2 separate regions of the Homo sapiens genome follow, and region 1 is linked to region 2. The links are contacts of gene promoters, found by promoter capture Hi-C in human tissues and cell types (Jung and others, 2019). All regions are on one chromosome and are shown on one strand. The core of a region is centred on a gene start or on the middle of the fragment in contact, and the rest is flanking DNA. Distances in the headings are between cores, read along the strand shown.

Region 1 (3,659 bases), core at 623-3,122, 41 kb before region 2:
TGAAAATCCAGGCGGATTTTCTTAAATCTCTAGGCCCCTAATTTAATTACTTCGGCAAATAATGTTTTTCCAAGTAAGGCCTCATTCACAGATTCTGGAATGTGGATGTAGCTTTTTGGGGGTCACTATTCAACCCACTGCAGAGGAGGTGCGTGTGCATTGGGTGCAGTGGCAGCTGTGTTTCTGAGCTGTCCTTCCCTCCAGGGGCTCTCTACAAGTGGGGCTGCAACGTCCTAGGGCAGCCTCTCTCTCCTGTCTCCCTCTCTCCAGCACCTTTGCCTCACTTTATAAACGCTTTCCCTCTTGAACATATTAACAAACTAAAGACCATTTTTATTTTTTTAAAATTTGAGGTGGAGTCTCGCTCTGTTGCCCAGGCTGGAGTGCTGTGGCTCGATCTCCACTCACTACCTCCTCCGCCTCCTGGGTTCAAGTGATTCTCCTGCCTCAGCCTCCCGAGTAGCTGGGATTACAGGTGCCCACCACCACGCCCAGCTAATTTTTGTATTTTTAGTAGAGATGGGGTTTTGCCATGTTGGCCAGGCTGGTCTCGAACTCCTGAACTCAAGTGATCCGCCCACCTCGGCTTCCCAAAGTGCTGGGATTATAGGCATGAGCCACCACACCCAGCCAAAAGACCATTTTTCTTAAGACCATGACCCCTTGAACTCCATTCATCCAATTTTCCTTAGCTCCCAGACTGCCTATCAAAGCCATTCACATTCCTTGTGTCACCACCGTGGGCCCTGTCCTCTTTACTCTGTGCCATCTGCCAGGCAGCCTGCTTTCCCAGGGGCACCCACAGCCCCCTGGTAGGTACATGGAGTCTCTCTTCCTGGACTCGGCATCCTCTGTCTCTTTCCTGTGTTTTGTGTAGTGGGAGTTGGCGGAGGGATTCCCTCCCTCAGCCTCATGACCCTCCCCAGTTTAGCATCCATGGACCCACTGGGGGTCGAGCACCAGCAGTGAACAGACCTGGGGTCTCAGTTTGACCCCTTCGTAGCTATGTGACAGTGTTGAGGGAGGCACCTCTTCGCTGGGTCCTGGTGTACTCGGCTGTACCACACAGGCCCTCAAGGCACCGTGGAGGGCAGGACTGGACAGAGCAGTGGCAGGTGCCCGTGAGCGGAAGGGGAGCATTGAGGTGGAGGTAGCCAATTCTGTTTCTCCCTGCGCTGGTCCCTGTGAGTGAGTGTGTGTAACTTCCACATGCAAGGGCGGCTGCTGTCCAACATGAGGCAAGCAGGACTTCTCTCCCCCACTCTGCGCTGAGGATGGGCTGGGGAGGAAACGAGGCCTGAAGGCGTCCAGGCTCCGGGATGTCTCCCTCTGCACCGGTCTCATCATTTCGGTGCAGATTGAGGTTTCTTCTTGTGAAGGCTGTTAACAACCAAGTGAGAGCCGGGCTATCAAATGCCGAGTAATAAGATGCCTGTACCTGCTGCTTCCTGGCCGGAGTGATGGTGCATTTCTGCTGCTGAAATTGCATGTGGATTAATTAAAACGGGAGTAAGTATTTCTCCTGAATTATTCACCAGCTTCCAGGAGATGGAACCATCACTGTGGCGTCTTGTTACAGGAGTGCTGTGGCCTCTCCTCTGGTGGAGCACCGGAAGTGGAAGGCACGCTCCCGGGGCTGGGGCGTGCATGTAGGGGGTGCGGTGAAGCTGATCAGTTCTGTGGCTTTGAATCCTTGCATATCCGGAAGTCACAGAGAATTGGAAATGCCCTGCACGGGAGAGGCCAGCGGAATAACCCTCTAGAAAGTTCTCCTGCAGAGAAGTAGGAGCCTCCTCTTCCTTCCTTTTTTCCACTGACGAGGGCCTGCACTCCGCAGGGAGGCCTCAGGAGACTCGGTTTCCATCCTGCCTCTGGTCGGGGCAGTGGCCTCTCCATGCCTGATGGCAGGTCTGGGCTGAGCAAGGGGCCCCTAGGTGTCCCAGTGGTGCTTGTGGGCTGTTCTTGTATCTGACTGTGGAGTGTCAGAGTGTGTGTTCCATGCCCGCCTGGCCCTTGTGTGGGTATTTGTGGGTGCCTCTGTGTGCTGTGTATGAGGGTGCCACTGGAACGGGGCTGACCAAGCTCTTGGCCAATGATCCCATCCACCTTTGGTCCCTTGTGCTAGTGGGAAGGGCTGAGGGTGCTGGTCTGAGCCTTCTGGATGACCCCTCAGTCCTGACACTGGTTCTTCAGATGAGGTTGGCTGTCCCTTCCCCACGTGGTGGCTCTTTTTATTTTTATTTTTTTGAGATAGGATCTCACTCTGTTGCCCAGGCTGGAGTACAGTGGCATGATCTTGGCTCACTGCAACCTTGACCTCCCCGGGCTCAGGTGATCCTCTCACCTCAGCCTCCCCAGTAGCTGAGACCACAGGTGCGTGCCACCATGCCCAGCTAATTTTAACAACTTTTAGTACAGATGAGGTTTCACCATGTTGCCCAGGCTGGTCTTGAACTCCTGAGCTCAAGCAATCTGCCCACCTCAGCCTCCCAACGTGGGTGGTTCTTGATCAGTCCCCACAGATAATTTTTCTCTTGGGCCACCTTGACTGGAGACGCCTCATCTGCATGGGCCCTTTGCCGTGCCGTGCCGTGCCGTGCCATGCCGTGCTCATCCCGTTTCTCTTTCCAGGCCACAGGTCCACCCTGCTCCGGCCCCAGTGTCTTCTTACTCACTCTCCCTTCCCCTTGGGCCAATTTCCAAGCTGCCTCTGCGACTGGAGTTTAGCCAAGGCGAGCTCAGTTACACATACCTGAGCATGCACCCCAGCAGGCCTTTCCTGGGGCACTAGAGCTCTTTCTTTTCTTTCTTTTTTTTTTTTCTGAGACGGAGTCTTGCTCTGTCGCCCAGGCTAGAGTGCAGTGGTGCGATCTCGGCTCATTGCAACCTCTGCCTCCTGGGTTCAAGCGATTCTCCTGCCTCAGCCTCCCGAATAGCTGGGATTACAGGCACCTGCCACTGCACCTGGCTAATTTTTGTATTTTTAGTAGAGATGGGGTTTCACCATCTTGACCAGGCTGATCTCGAACTCCTGACCTCGTGATCCACCCACGTTGGCCTCTCAAAGTGCTGGGATTACAGGCGTGAGCCACCGTGCCCAGCCTAGAGCTCTTTCTAAGATAGACTCTCTTTTAATAAATGACTTTCAGGAAGATGGATGCTTATGTGTATCCTGCAGCAAGAGGATGAGTCAGTAGGACATGTCAGGGGTGTGGAGGGAATCTTTGAAGCTAGCGGGGCCTGGCACAGGGTATTGGCATTGGATCTGGGCAGAGCCAAGGAGTCCAGGCTGCCTCTCTCCATGGGGACACCTGCACCCTCCTGGCCGAGGGAAGGCAGGCAGCCAGCAGGGTACTTCGGCTGGGATCTGAGTGTAATGAAATATCGAGCAGTCTATTTTATGGATGGATTCTTCTCATACGTTCAAGATATTAAAATAAAAATTATTCTTAAAAGCTTGAATTGGAATAGAAGTAATGTCCCACAGTAAGCAAGGTAGATACCCCTTTGGCTGGCACTAAATTTTCTCCGAAATAGGCTGTTTTTTATGTAGAAGAGGGAGAGAGAGTCATCGTAGGTAAGTCAGACAAACTGAGCTTCTTAGCTTCAGAAACCTGAAAACAGGCTGGGCATGGTTGCTCACACCTGTATTCCCAGCA
Region 2 (3,436 bases), core at 83-2,582:
AATCAGAAGGACCATTTCATTCCTTAGTGTAGATATGGCTTATTGCCAGGATTTGTGGCAGATGTAGGCACCCAGGCATGAGATGTGATTTACAGGCCTGGCAGAGACCTCTGCCCTCCAACATCTCCTTAGCCAGCCTGCCACGATGCCCAAATTTCCGGCCACCATTCATCACTCTTCTGCACAAAGGCACGGTCAGCATGTCCTTGTTCAATGCAAATTTGTTACCTAGCCTGTGTAACACATTATATCTGCTAACACCAATTTATCACCCATTTTCACATTAGCAGAGAGCAAGGCAGTGAGATAATGGAACTCAGCACCGGTAAATTTTGATGAAGAAGGAGCAGCAAAGCAGAGAGCGTGAGTCATGGCCAGTGAGTAATGGCCCAGGAAGGGGGCCGGGAGGTGGGCAGGGCAGGCAGCAAGGGGCCTGGGTATGGGGGATTGGAGGGGACCAGGCCCAGCTGGAGGAAAATAAAGTCTCCTCCTCGCATAAGCCAGGCTGCAGCATCGTGGCCTGAGCTGGGAAGACCCTCAGAGTCATTTGACACATGACTGAGGCTTTGGGCACTTCCCAGGGTGGGGTGGTCAGATATGACCTCGGGAAGTGCTTTTGAAGCCGGAGAGCTTTCTTCAGGCTGGCTCTGCGAGCTCCCAGGAGTCTCTGTCTCTGCAACTGCAAACACATCTCCAGAGCCAGGAAGTACGAGGAGGGGGAGGGGAGGACGCCTAGATGCTAAGAGACGACATGAGATCCTACATGCTTTAGGGTTGCAAGGGACCTTGGTGAGCTTCTGGTCACTATCATTTCATAATGGAGACTCTGAGACGTGCACACTTGATCGCCCACTGGCTAGTGGAGGATCTGGGGCTACAACTCAGTACGCCCCTGCGCCTGGCTCTGTGAGCGGGCCCCAGCACCACAGGCCGAGTTTATACTCAGATCAGTAAGCAAAGAGGAGCCACGGGAGTTTCTGACCAGGGAGGGGCAGAAGATAGGCATGTGTTGCCAAGCGAAATCGTGGGAAGCGGCTGATGAGGAAGCCCACGGAGGCACCTGGCAGAAGAGAAGGGTCTCCGCTGGGTGCGCATCTCTTCTGTGCTCTGCGGGAGCCAAAGCAGCTTTCGGCCCTCGGGGCTGGTGGCGCCCTGGGAAGCTGCTTGGCTCAGGGGAAGGAGCAGGGACCCCCGCCCGCCCGTCCTCGAAGCTGGTCCTCGGCGTCCCAGCCCCGCACGGCCCCGGGCAGGGCGCACAGCGGGGCTGCGGCCACGAGGTGGCGCCGGCGCGCCTTGGAAGCGCAGCTGCAGCTCCCGGGCCGCCCCAGCGCCGCTCGGCCGCCTCCTCCGAGGAACAATGCGGCGCCTCCGGGCGTAGCGTCGCGCGGGGCCGGACGCCGGACACCAGAGCGCGGGCGGCGGAGCCAGCGGGCGAGAGAGCGCGCGGCGGGCGCGGGTTGCCCTCGTCGAGAGCCATGGGCGCGGCGCGGCGCGGGGCTGAGGATCGGCGCGGCCCGGAGGCGCTGGGGACCGGGGCGCGGGCCCGGGGCCGCCTTTAGCCGGCACCGAGGGCGCGGGGCCGGGGATGAGGGCGCCCGCCGCGGGGAGCCCGTCTGCGCGCCGCGGCACCTTCCCGCCCAGCGAGCGAGCCCGAGCAGGCAGACGCGCGGCCGGCGGTCTGGGGGCGCGCCGCCTCCCGGTCCCCAAAATGTGAAGCGGGGAGGGCGGAGACGCAGAGACGGCCCGGCCGGGCGCCCTCGCCGCCCTCCGGCAGCCGCGCCGCTCCCTCCGCTGCACGCCCAGGCCTGAGCAGCGAGGCCACCGGGCCGCGCGCTCCCAGCTTCGCTCGGACGCGGCTTCGGCCCGCAGAGGGTTCGTGGCCCGGACGCGGCGAGAGCTGGGCCCAGGACGGTGCGTCCGGCCTCGCCCGCGGCTGCTCGCACCAACAAGTTTGAACAATGATCACCGTCAACCCCGATGGGAAGATAATGGTCAGAAGATGCCTGGTCACCCTGAGACCCTTTCGGTAAAGTTCCCTCCTGGTTGGTTTTTTCCCCAGGGGGGCGCCGGGTGGAGGTGGGCGAGGTCGGTTCCTGCGAACGTTCAAGTCCTGGTGGCAGAGGGGGCGGTTCACACTTCAACCCCTGGTGATGACCAGTGGGGCTGGGCTGGGGGAACGGATGGCGTTGGGGTTCGGGGTGCGGATGGGGAGGGTTGTGTTATTCGGGGACCTGTCCCGAGTTGGGCAGGGTTGGAGAGGACTCGGGGTGCAGAGGTAAGAATGGGGGCAGAAAACCCCCAGGTCGTGGTCCTGGGCCCAGAAAGTTGCCCCAGCCTGCGCGCCCCTTCCCAGCCCCTCAGGGTCCTTCCTCACCCCGCGGACGGTCCCATCCGGGTGGCAAAGTTAGTGTGCGGCGCCTTGGAGCTCCCCCTCCGGTCCCTCCCGTCCCGCCCGTCTGCCCCTAGGTCGGCTACCCCCCAACCCCTCCGCCTGTGCCACCCTCTCCCCAGCCTTTGGTGGCACTGCTCTCCTCCCCGCGGGGCTCGGGCCTGGCTCCGACGAGAGGGTCCCGAGATTAGAGCGAGGACTCGCTCATCCCAGGATTCGCCCCCGATCGCAGGCGTCGGAGAGGCGGGGGCAGGGGCGGCGCTGCAGGGCTACGGGGCGGCTGGAGCCGAGGCTGCGGCGGAGCGTGGTGGGCGGGCGGTGGCGAAGGCGACACGCTTCGGGCGGCCAACACCTGGGGGCCCAGGCCAGGCAGGGCTGGGGCCGCGCGGGACTCACTGGACCCAGCCAGGGGCCCCCAGGGCCCAGCGGTGCCGGGGCAGCCCCCTCTCCTCCCAGGCATCCGCGGAACCGGCCCGCAGCGGGGTGGGGAGGGGGCGCTGCCCAGTGGACGCCCGGCGGGGCCCGAGTGTCACCCCGTGGGTAGCTGGGCAGCGAGGAAGCTGGGGGAGTGACCGCCCCGGCGCGGGGGCCGGACTCGGGACGTGGCCACAGGTGGGCTCCGGGCGCGGGAAGGAGCCCGAGAAGGCGGAGCTTGCAGGGGCCCTGAACTCTTGCCCTCCAGGTCTCGGCCCAGCCCCACTGTGGTCCCCCTGCCGGCTCCAGACGGGGATGGGGGCGGGGAGACGGTGGCTCACCTGGAGCCCGCCTCCCAGCACACCGGGCCTGTCTGCTGGGCCGAGGAGGCAACCCCAGGGGACGGCAGGGGTCAGGCTGGACCTCTGCGGTCCGGGGGTCCGGGAGGCCCGGAGAGCTGGTGCAGGCCGTGGGTGGTGATGGGGGCGTCGGGAGCCCATGGGAAGCAGGGCGGGAAGCAGGCGTCTCTGGAAAGGGCCTTGCTCCTCCAGGGAAGGCCTTGAATCCCTGGCCTGACTGGGAACGCTGGAGGGTCCTCGCCCCTTCCGACCCCATCCCTGTCCCGCCCTCCGG

What was found. Contacts are between HindIII fragments. The study calls those that stand out against the background at their distance.
Region 1: a fragment that was not itself captured here is called in contact with the fragment with the promoter of MGAT5B in region 2 in 2 of the 25 tissues and cell types used here (pancreas and psoas muscle).

Annotation. Positions count from the first base shown.
Region 1 is chr17:76,825,242-76,828,900 of GRCh38, forward strand. The region is part of intron 1 of LOC107985089 (a long non-coding RNA gene); the gene reads left to right. Among named protein-coding and RNA genes, the nearest start is that of LINC02080, 28 kb to the left of the region's middle. RefSeq lists an enhancer at 693-1,509. The HindIII fragment of the contact is 4,604 bases long and covers 1-3,659 here.
Region 2 is chr17:76,867,072-76,870,507 of GRCh38, forward strand. MGAT5B (alpha-1,6-mannosylglycoprotein 6-beta-N-acetylglucosaminyltransferase B) reads left to right here and starts at 1,333. Exons shown (of 18, transcript NM_001199172.2): 1 at 1,333-2,026. The coding sequence starts at 1,959. RefSeq lists an enhancer at 536-830 and a silencer at 1,168-1,477. The HindIII fragment of the contact is 29,656 bases long and covers 1-3,436 here.